Regions from separate parts of the Homo sapiens genome. Here all the other regions are linked to region 2. The links are contacts of gene promoters, found by promoter capture Hi-C in blood cells and fetal thymus (Javierre and others, 2016). All regions are on one chromosome and are shown on one strand. Each heading gives the region's core, a stretch centred on a gene start or on the middle of the fragment in contact. The rest is flanking DNA. Distances are from core to core; before and after follow the strand shown.

The links. Contacts are between HindIII fragments. The CHiCAGO score rates a contact against its expected background, and 5 or more counts as called.
Region 1: a contact is called between a fragment that was not itself captured here and the fragment with the promoter of BMP8A in region 2, in 1 of 17 cell types (total CD4 T cells). The highest score is 5.4, in total CD4 T cells.
Region 3: a fragment that was not itself captured here is called in contact with the fragment with the promoter of BMP8A in region 2 in 2 of 17 cell types (fetal thymus and total CD4 T cells); the score reaches 5.9 in fetal thymus.

What each region holds. Positions count from the first base shown.
Region 1 is chr1:39,127,427-39,130,945 of GRCh38, reverse strand. It overlaps a transcript of MACF1 not described here. Among named protein-coding and RNA genes, the nearest start is that of MACF1, 76 kb to the left of the region's middle. The HindIII fragment of the contact is 1,345 bases long and covers 1,551-2,895 here.
Region 2 is chr1:39,490,363-39,493,720 of GRCh38, reverse strand. It overlaps BMP8A (bone morphogenetic protein 8a), which reads right to left and starts at 2,085. Exons shown (of 7, transcript NM_181809.4): 1 at 1,396-2,085. The coding sequence starts at 1,729. LOC124904101 (a long non-coding RNA gene) reads left to right here and starts at 2,173. Exons shown (of 2, transcript XR_007065978.1): 1 at 2,173-3,032. RefSeq lists silencers at 1,757-1,856, 1,957-2,586. The HindIII fragment of the contact is 20,371 bases long and covers 1-3,358 here.
Region 3 is chr1:39,175,616-39,179,499 of GRCh38, reverse strand. It overlaps a transcript of MACF1 not described here. Among named protein-coding and RNA genes, the nearest start is that of MACF1, 27 kb to the left of the region's middle. The HindIII fragment of the contact is 180 bases long and covers 2,517-2,696 here.

The DNA.
Region 1 (3,519 bases), core at 974-3,473, 360 kb after region 2:
TGCTTGAACCCGGGAGGCGGAGGTTGCAGTGAGCCGAGATCACACCATTGCACTCCAGCCTTGGGCAACAAGAGCAAACTCCATCTCGAAAAAAAAAAAAGTAAAGAAAAGAAAAGGGGTAAAAAAAAGTTGGCTTAGAATTCTTCACTTCTTAGCCACAGCATCTAGGGAACGTTGATTTACCCAGCAAAAGGAACCCTTTTCTCAAGGAATCTCTGAAAATATTTTCACTTTCTTCATTCCCAACTTAACACATCCAAATGATGCTGCTCAAAATTTCAAGGATATAAATTAGTATGACATATAAGAGCAGGAACATCTCCACAATAGAAGAGAACTCTTGAGTCAGCTCTTGTAGGAAGTTCTGCAAAACCGCACCCAGGAAACTTGATCTGAACAATGAGATGAGTGTACTAACTTTTCCCTACTGTCAGTACTTCCCAGAGCCAGAGAATGGGACATGTAGGAGGATTTATCTGAAAACAGAGAAAGGAGTAGAAACCAAAACTCACATCATTCCCATAGGCCAAAACTCCCCACCAAGGCAGTCTCAGTACCATTTCAATGTTTAATGTGACTACAAAAGGTCATTTAGTATTGTTATTGCCTCCAGGCTAGTTACAGCTAAATCATGCCACAAAAAATAGGGAGGCATCTAGCCTAATGTTTTTAAAGCTAAAGCCCAATCATTAGAAATATATTAGGGTGTTGGCTATATTTATACTCTGTTCAAAGGACCAGTAATCTTCATCTTCTGATAATGAGAAGAATTCCCCATGAATGGGGGGGAAAAATAAACTCTGAAAGGGATCTTTTCCCCTTCGGGGGCAGGTACCGACATTTCAACACAAGACTTTGAGTCCAAAATACTCAGAGAAAAAAAAAATGGAGTGGGGCCTTTCTATTAACAAAAAGAATATTGTATTAGGAGACCTCAAGACCCCTAAATCAAGCAATCAAAACATTCTGCTCCCTAAGCCACAGCCACAGAAGAGTTAAAACCATCAAACTCCATTTCCTTTCCTCTCCATTTCAAATCATTTGGGGGAGGGGAGGAGGAGTGGAATAGAAAGACAGGTTGCAGTCAAAGTCTGGACAGCTAAAGGCAGGGTGGTCCACTGCATATGTGAACCTCAGAGATGGGAATGATAACTAACCAATAATGTGTGTGTGATAGGAGGGTGTCAGTGAAGGAGAAAAATAAGATGGGGCAAAAGGAGTTAGCAGGAATAGAAACAAGAGGTTTTACACTACTTCAATAGCAACCTCTACTGGCAAATGCAAGGAGGTCCTGGCCACCCTTAAGGTCTAGGGCTGGTAAGACAAGTGAGAGAAAGGATTATGCCCATCCCTGGTCTTACTCTGACTGTCCTGCATTTTTCTCCTGGATTTCCTAAATCTAACCTAAGCCTTTTCTCCAGATTCACTCTAATGAGAAAGTAAGTAGATGGCTGGTACAGTTTTATAGCAAAGAAAATAAATGGCAATTAACAACTGGTTTGCACCAGAGAAGCCAGTTTGCCTAATTAGCCTGCTGGTTCCAAGAAGCTTCTCTCTGCAATACGCCAGCCTTTAATATTTATGTTTTTAATAAAGCCATATCCCCACCTCTCACAAGGTAGCATCCTCCCATCCATCCCCTTTTCAGCCCTCTTCCTACACTTACTATCTCTTTTTCCCAATGTGAAGTCTTGAATCCCACCCACTAAAGGAGAAAACATAACCTGTTGCACAAGTATTTCATTTACGGGCAGTTCTCTCAGGCACACACCCCATCTTGACAGGCAGCCAAGATGATGTCAGCCAGGTAAGTGTTCCCTTAGGCTTCCGGCTCTAAGCACCTGATCTTTAGAAGGGTGTGAAGTACTAACAAAATCCAATCACATCAACATTTACTGAGTACTTGCTAAATGTAGGACATTGTGTTAGGCAAAATTGGGACTAGAAAGAATAAATCACCATGAGCCCAAGCAGCACAATCTAACTGGGCAAATGTGTGATAAGTTAAATAACAAATAATAAAATACAAGTGACGATACACGGCATTTCATGGTCAACTGGCAAATGAGTGGTAGAAATTAATGCTATGAGTTATGAAGCAGAATGAGTTATCATGGGTTAGCTTTCCAGTGGATTAATGTAAAAGGGAGGACTTGAACTGAGCTTCAAAGGTAAGTAAAATTTTACCAGGAGGTGAGGGAAAGACTACAGAAAAGGGTGCAATAGCAGAAATCTTTTTTTTTTTTTGAGACGGAGTCTCACCCTGTCACCCAGGCTGGAGAGCAGTGGCGTGATCTCGGCTCACTGCAAGCTCCACCTCCTGGGTTCACGCCATTCTCCTGCCTTAGCCTCCCGAGTAGCTAGGACTACAGGCGCCCGCCACCACGCCTGGCTAATTTTTTTTTGTATTTTTAGTAGAGACGAGGTTTCACCGTGCTAGCCAGGATGGTCTTGATCTCCTGACCTTGTGATCCATCAGCATCCCAAAGTACTGGGATTACAGGCGTGAGCCACCGTGCCTGGCCCTATGGCAGAACTCTTAAGTATCAAAGGGAGACTCAAAAGTAAGGCAGCCCAGTGCAGTGGTGCAGTCCTGTAGTCTCAGCTACTCAGGGGGCACTGCTTAAGACCAGGAGTTTGAGGCTGCACTGTGCTATGATGGTGCCTGTGAACAGCCACTGCACACTAGCCTGGGCAATGTAGCAAGACCCTGTCTCTAAAAAAAAAATAAAAAATAAAAATGTAAGCCAGATGTATGGTAATAAAAATAAATAAGAGGTAAGGCTCATGAGTCAAGAAGAGACACAACCAACCTAAAGGAATATAAAGGATGTAAAGGTGCAGTTCCAAAGCAAGCCTGGCAAGAAAAAACCTGTAAGGATACAAACCAAAGCTTGAACAGTGGTTACCCTGACCAGTGGGCCTAGGTGGAGAAAATAAAGACTAGAAAAGAGAATTTTTACTTTTTTCTTTGTAATTTCTGCTTAAATGTATTACAGTGAACATGTTTAATTTTGTAATAATACAAAAGAGAGTTACATAAACATAGCAGGCCTATGTTTTTTCCTCTTAATCACTAGGACATTTTTTTTTTTAAGTAACTTACAACATCTCACATCTGACTAGGGCCCCATGGCAAGACTGCAACCAGTAGGTAAGAAATGTGAACTGACTTCACATTCTCTTTCCCAATGAAAACAATAACAGCTCAAAGGAACACAAGTAAAGGTCACTTCCCTGACCCCTTAAGTTGGCACCATTCCAGAACTAGGAGTTTTTAGAGAAAAGGAGACTCAAGCCAAACAGTTCTATTCAAGGAAGTGAAGGAAAAGTATATACTGAGTTAAGAGCTGGAGTTCTGAAGTCCAACAGAGCTACACATAAATGACTGCTCTACCATTTACTGGGTGAGAGAACTTGAGCAAGTTATTTCACTGGCTGAGACCCACTTTTCTCCTCTGCAAAATGAGATAATCTATTTCACAGGGTTATCATGAGAATTAAGTGGATTAATGTATA
Region 2 (3,358 bases), core at 836-3,335:
GCAGCATACAGATCCCACCGGCTAGAGTCCTGTCCCTGGCACTGGGCGCTCAGCGATGGTGAATGGCTGCCTTCTGCTGCTCGCCTCCACCACCAGCTCTGGGTTGCGGGAAGCAGAGGCTTGGCCATGCCCTCTTCTGCTCTAGTGTAGGAAGCAAATGGCTGATGGCCCCACAAGACCTGCTGCAGCTCAGTACCCTGTGTTCCTCAGCCCAGACTCCTCAGAAAGCTCTCTGCACCCTGAAAGCCTGACCTGACAACAGAAATGTCATCTCATTGAGCCCTGGATGGACAGTCAGGCTTCCTGGGCCTGTCCTGGCTCAGCAACATAGAGGCTGCGCTGTCCTAGGCATGGCGCTGCCTCTCTGAACCTCACTGTCCTCATCTGGGAGATGGGGATGAAGACCGTGGCTGTTATCAGGGTTGTCGGGAGGATGAAGAATTAATGATGCTGTCTGTGGAGGGAGGCTGGTGGCTGGGGCAGGTACCCACTCCCTGCTCTCAGCCCCACAGCTCCCCCACTTCGGGCTGAGCTGTGGTCCTTGGCTCCCAGACCCCGGCCTGTCACTAGCCACAGACAGGAGGCAAAGCAGACGGGGGACCTGACCAACAGTAACTACACGAGCATAGACCAAAGAGTTTAGTACTGGAAAAGAAAAATCTGAGATCTTAAGGAATAAATAGCTCCAGGGTTTGATACAAGATGTTTGCAGACAGGAAAAGCCCGGCTTTGCCTGGGAGAACACAGTGGGTCCAGCTGCCCACTGGGCCATTCCACAGGACCGGACACTCACCCTATACCAGGCCACATGCTAAGTGCAGGGCCCAGGGTGACAAGGCCACAGTCCCTGCCCCAGCGAGCTGAGTCTGCTCCTTCCCCAGCCGCTCCCCTGACAGCCGCACCCCACCCAGGCTCCGCACAGGGAAGAGCCTGCTGTGGACTCAGGGCACGCGACTCAGCTCTGGTCACTCCGATGATGTGACCACAGGTTTCCACGCTGAACTTTGTCCCTCTCCTCAGTACTGTCCTTATCACAGTGACAGCATCCCGGCCTCTGTTTACTCACCTGTCTCCCCAGGACCAGGCTGTCTTCCCGGGGCAGCCCAGGTGGGCAAAGACATCACCTAATTCTTACTCCTGGGTGTGTCTGGGGCAGGGTGAAGGCAGCGCCTGGGAGTCCACAGTCCCCCACACTCTGCTCCTGACCACCCCGCAGCCCAGGGGGCCCCCATGACCCTTAGACCTTCCCTAACCACGGCGGTCCCACTCCCCTGTGGTTCGCGTCCACCGTCTGTGATTCCCCGTTCGGCCAGGGCCCGGCACCGCCCGCGGATGCGCGCCCCTCCCCTGCAGCCAGCTTACTCCGAGGGTCCCCGCGCGGGCGGCCGCACTCACCCATGTTGACGAAGCTCATGACCAGGTCGGCGCGGCCCAGGCGCTGCTCCGCGGGCGCGCCGTCCTCGTCGTCGTCGCCAGCCATGGCGTGGTACAGGTCCAGCATGAAGAGCGGCGCGGACGCGGGCAGCCGGGAGGCGGCGGGTGGCGCGCGGGGCCGGGGCCGCCCGGGTAGCCCGAGCACCGCCAGGATCTCGCGCTGCACGTCCCGGCGCTCGCGCGCGCCCAGACGTCGCTGGGGACAGCCGGGCGGGGGTCGCAGGCCGGGGCCGCCCCCGCCCAGCGCGCACAACGTCAGGCCCAGAAGCCAGAGCGGTCCGGGGCGCGCGGCCATGGCGGGCCGGGGGCGCTCAGCGGGCGCACATCAGCTCCGCCGCCGCCCCTGGGCCCGGGGACGCCCCGACGGCGAACGGGGAGCTGAGTTCGGCGAGCAGGGGGCGGGGCTCGGCGGGCGGCGTCTGCGGCCTCAGCGCGGTCCCTGGAGCGCCCCCCGCGCGCACCTGCCCCGGCTCCGGGACAAGCGGACGCTGACGCGGACGCAGACGCCAACGCTTCGAGGCCGGGGCTGTTCTGAGGGCTGGGACTGTCAGCCAATCCGTCTGTCGCCGCCGTTCCCACCAGTCCGGCTGTGGCTGCGGTCCGCGCAGCGCAGGGGCGACCGGCGAGCTCCGGCAGCGACCCGGGCGGCGCGATTCCCGCGAGTCCTTGCCCCGGCTCAGCCGTCTGTGCCGCCCGCCCACCCCCGGGACTGACCAATGGGGGCGCGGGGGCGGGGCCTGGGCGCGGAGGCCGCGCCCGCTAGGAGCCCCGGGCGGCGGCAGGTGTTGCGGGTGGGGCGACCCCGAGGTGCGACCTCGGCGTGGCTGGCGGTTGGTCCGGGCGAGGAGCCCGCAGCCTGGGCGTCAGCGTGGTCAGGGCCGTCGTGGCTCCCGCCGCGGGCCTCGGCGCAGAGATCCTAAGGCCGCGGCGCCGTCCCGGTCCCGCCAGTGGTGCCACCCGGCTGCCTCGCCGTGGTGTGCCGTGGTCGCCACCGGGCCCGACACGCGGCCGTAGCCCCGTCTGGAGAGCCGGGCGGTGCCAGCCAAGCCCCGCGGGTGGGGCCTGTTCCTCTGCCCGCAGCAGCCGGCCCGGGTTCCGGCCACCGCGGCCCCTCACCGCCTCCTGGCGCCTTCCCCGTGGCCCCTGCATGCGCTTCTGCGGGCGCCTCCTTCTCGGCACCTGCTCGGCTGCTTCTCCCTGCGTCCCCCACCTGGCTCCCGCGTGAGCCCAGGCAGCGCCCCAGTCGGGCCGCCCCCGCCAGCCCTAGCTGTGCGCCCTGCGTCCCCGGTACTGATCCAGCTTTGCGGAGGAGGCTCCGCCTCCTGCCTCCAGCTGGGCCAGAAGCTCTGGGGCCCTTCCCGAGCACTCGGGAGCCACCTGTGCACATCTTCTCAGTCCCCACGGCCCCGGTGCAGGCCTGCCAAGAGAAGGATCCCCGCGGAAACGTCTCGACTGACTCAGTCCCTTTCTGCACACCTGCTCTTCCCTGGGCGCGCTCTCGCCTTACTTATTCCTGTGTGGTTCAGGCGCTGCGGAAGGAGAAGGCACCTAGACTGCACTGGGAAGGCTCCTGGAGTTGACCTGGAGCGCCAGGAAAGGTCAGTGGAGGAAAGTGCTCCAGGCAGAGGGAATAGCTTGTGCCAAGGCCCTGAGACCCCGGCTGGGGAGCCTAATAATGGCAACAGTCAGCACTTGCCACGCCAAGGCATGTTCTGAGTGTGTGTCTCGTGTCATTTCTGTGATGCTCGCACATCGTTAGGGGGTACATACCACTGGAACCTCCTCTTTTAATAAATGAGGAAACTGAGGCACACGGCGGTTAAGGGACTTACGCCAGGTCACACAGCAGTGGAGCTGCGCTCGGGCAGGGGGGCAGTGGAAACTGGAGAGCCCAGGGGGCAAACGGCGGAGGCTGGAGGGGCTG
Region 3 (3,884 bases), core at 1,357-3,856, 310 kb after region 2:
CTAAGACTTACAGAGATTAAGTAATTTGTCCAAGATCACATAGCTAATAAGTAGCAGAGCTGGAATTCAAACCCAGGCCTCTTCAATTGCCTATCTAGTGCTTTTTCCACTAGTTCAATGGCATTCCAGTATCCTGACTCTCCCATGTATGGTTCATCCCAAAGACTTCCAGAAACAGAAGATGCAGAAGGGCAGCTAAGTCCCACCCCAACTCTGTTCTGAGTGGAGCAAGTTTTCCTAGAGCAACACGGGGTCTGGGGAAAGAAAGGAAGGGGTGGAATATGAGCAAAGACAAAGATGGACATCAGAAAATAAGTGTGTGGGGGAGTTCACCTTGCAGCTAAAAATGAAATTGAATAAGGGCAGGCAGCCCTGGCTAAGATAAGATGACTTCAGTCAAAACTGCAAACAAACCCTTTTCCTGATGACATCCATTTCTCCCCTGTAAACAGAAGTTAAAATATCACTTAATCACTGTTTAATCATTCTCCATAAGTTCACTGCAATTTAACTCCTTATGTTCTGACTGCCTCCAGCATGCTCCTAGACAATCCAGGAAAGGAACTAAAGAGACCATCAAGAGGCGGCTAAGGCTGACAATAAAGCAGAAAGAAACTTTCAATACGCATTAAGTCTCCAAAACCATTTTACCAGTTAGAAATTTTTTATATTATGATCACAAGCCACCTGATCTCTTGGCTTTCCAATCTGACACCTGATTCATGCCATAGCCATGCCTCATGAAGGAATTCCAGGAGTGAGACACCAGACCAGAATTTCACTCCTGAGGGTCAGGACTTTAGGACTGCTGGAATGTGCCCAGTAAAGACGTGGGGGTGTCTGGGCAGCTGAAAGCCTCCACACGGGAATTCAGTAAGGACAACTGCTGAACCCTGGGTTATGGATTTAAAAATAAACCTCAGTGACCCGCATGCCTTAAGAATCATTTGGGAAAGAACGTTGCTGAATCCAGCAACTATGTGCCCCACTGGGGTGAACTACAGAGAGGGAAAAAGAGAAAAATGCTTTTACTACCCCTTTCAAGGAGTATGATAGGACAAAAAGACAAAGGAAATCCAAAATTGGCTTCCCCAAGAGCAAAGACTTACAAACTACCTGTATTTCTATATTTCTTATATTTTAAGGTTTCAGGAAAGGTGTTAGTACATGTGCACTGTCTGTGAGGTACTAAGATTATGTTCAGTACATAAACGAATGAAAACCACCATGGCACATGTATACCTATGTAACAAACCTGCACATTCTGCACATGTATCCCAGAACTTAAAGTAAAATTTAACCAAAAAAAAAAAAAAAAGAATGTTGAAAAGGAAAATTACAATGTAAGGTAGCACACTGGCTGACCTTTATGGGCTTACTGAGGACACAAATATAACCTCATACTCCTCTCCTGGAATTTGTAAGGAGAAGACAATGGGGAATAAAGATTTCCCTGACAGCCTAAAGATTTCCCTGACAGCCCAGATTCTGCGGAAATCCCCCTCTCGGTGATCCCATTTCTCAACTTGATTGAAATAACTACCACCCAGATTCCTGGAAATTGCCATTTTACTTATTCAATGGGGAGTTTTATTGCCATGGCAGTGCAGCTTTCATAGCTACAGGATTTCAGCATTATGCTCACCCAAATGATTCTTAAAACTTAAGAGTCACTGAGAAAGGCCTAAGGGCACTTCAGAAAGCAATGGCTTTCCCATTCACCACAGCTTCTGGTATAGATGGCAAAGGAAATAGTGCCCGGAGCAAAACTGAGATGTTTCCCAGTTACCTCTTGGAGCTGACTCTCTGAAAGATGGTTATATTATCAATGCCAATCAGAAACTAGGCATGGAGATTACAGTCCTACCTTCCTCTATGAACACAAATACGCCTGCCCCCACCATCATCCCTCTCTCCATTAGCAATAACATTTACGAATGATATGTGGAGTGGCTCCTGGACCCCTCTCTGATGTTCCCTTTTTGCACAGCAAAATGATGACAGCCAGGGACTGATGATGCAGTTATTTGTACATTAGGCATCAATCTGGAAAACTCCTTCTATAGAAACAGTAGTTAGGCCGGGAAAGGTGGCTCACGCCTGTAATGCCAGCACTTTGGGAGGCCGAGGCGGGTGGATCACATGAGGTCAGGAGTTTGAAACCGGCCTGACCAACACGGAGAAACTCCGTCTCTACTAAAAATACAAAATTAGCTGGGCGTGGTGGCACATGCTACTCAGGAGGCTGAGGCAGGAGAATCGCTTGAACCTGGGAGGCGGGGGTTGTGGCGAACCAAGATTGCGCCATTGCACTCCAGCCTGGGCAACAAGAGCGAAACTAGGTCTCAAAAATAAATAAATAAAAATCTCCTTTTCTCAAACCTCTAGTCTGATGACAGCGATTCTCAGTCCTTAGGCCCCAACGTAGCTCTAAGATCTCTAGACTATCTCAAGAGATACTACATAATTCTCAAATATATCTTTGAAACCGGACTAATTTTAACCCTCTTAAAGCTTATATTACTTAGCATTTTTGTTAAAGGAAGGAACTGTAATAAAATTAAACAAAAGAAAAAAAGTCACAATTCAAGGATCTTACTAAAGATTACTCCTAGCCAAGGCTTCAACAGCAAGCAATGTGATTTGGAGGAAAGGCATTCAACTGTACATCAGAACCCTGGGTCATGGTTTAAGCTTGTCAATAACTAGTTATATCACTTGGCCCAAGTATCCTTTGACTTCTCCAGGTGGGCTCAGTTCCTCATCTATCTTTTCATGACACTATGAATTTGGGATTGATCTAAAAACCTATTGATCTAAAAACCTGACTATTAAACATCTAGAGATAGAACCAGTGATGCTTAGTAAGTATAACAAGAATTCATATCTAGCTCCCCAAGCATAAGCAGAAATTTTCTACAGAAAAATGACTAAAATGGGGGGAAAAAGAAGGAAAGAGCCTCATATGCAAGGTATAAGAATCAAAAGTTAGAGGACCTAAAAGGAGGAGAGTGGAAGCTATGATTACAGAATTTAAACGAAGAGGACTATTAGAAGTCTTCCCTTCCTACTCTCAATTCTCCTTTAAATAATTTTGAATAACGAAAATGACTAAGAAATGGGACAAGCTAACACACAAATAAGCATTCTGGGTAAGAGAAGAATTGTTGTGTGCTATAAAATGGATTTAGAAGAAGAAAGTGAGAATTTTTTTTTTTTTTGGAGACAGAGTCTCACTCTGCCACTCAGACTGGAGTGCAGAGGTGTGATCTCGGCTCACTGCAACCTGGGTCTCCCGGGTTCAAGTGATTCTCCTGCACTAGCCTCCCTCCTGAGTAGCTGGGATTACAGGCGCCTGCCACCACACCTGGCTTTTTTTTTTTTTTTTTTGAGAAGGAGTCTCGCTCTGTCGCCCAGGCTGGAGTACAGTGGCGCAATCTCAGCTCACTGCAAGCTCCGCCTCCCGGGTTCATGACATTCTCCTGCCTCAGCCTCCCGAGTAGCTGGGACTACAGGTGCCCGTCACCACACCTGGCTAATTTTTTTTTTTTTTTTTTTGTATTTTTAGTAGAGACAGGGTTTCACCATGTTAGCCAGGATGGTCTTGATCTCCTGACCTTGTGATCCACCCTCCTTGGCCTCCCAAAGTGCTGGGATTACAGGCGTGAGCCACTGCACCTGGCCACACCCGGCTAATTTTTGTATTTTTAGTAGAGAGAGGCTTTCACCACGTTGGCCAGGCTGGTTTCAAACTCCTGGCCTCAAGTGATTCGCCTGCCTCAGCCTCCCAAAGTGCTGGGATTATAGGTGTGAGCCACTGCCCCCGGCAGTGAGGATTTTTAAAAGGGAAGAAGAAATTAGAAAAACAGAAAGCAGAAAAGAAG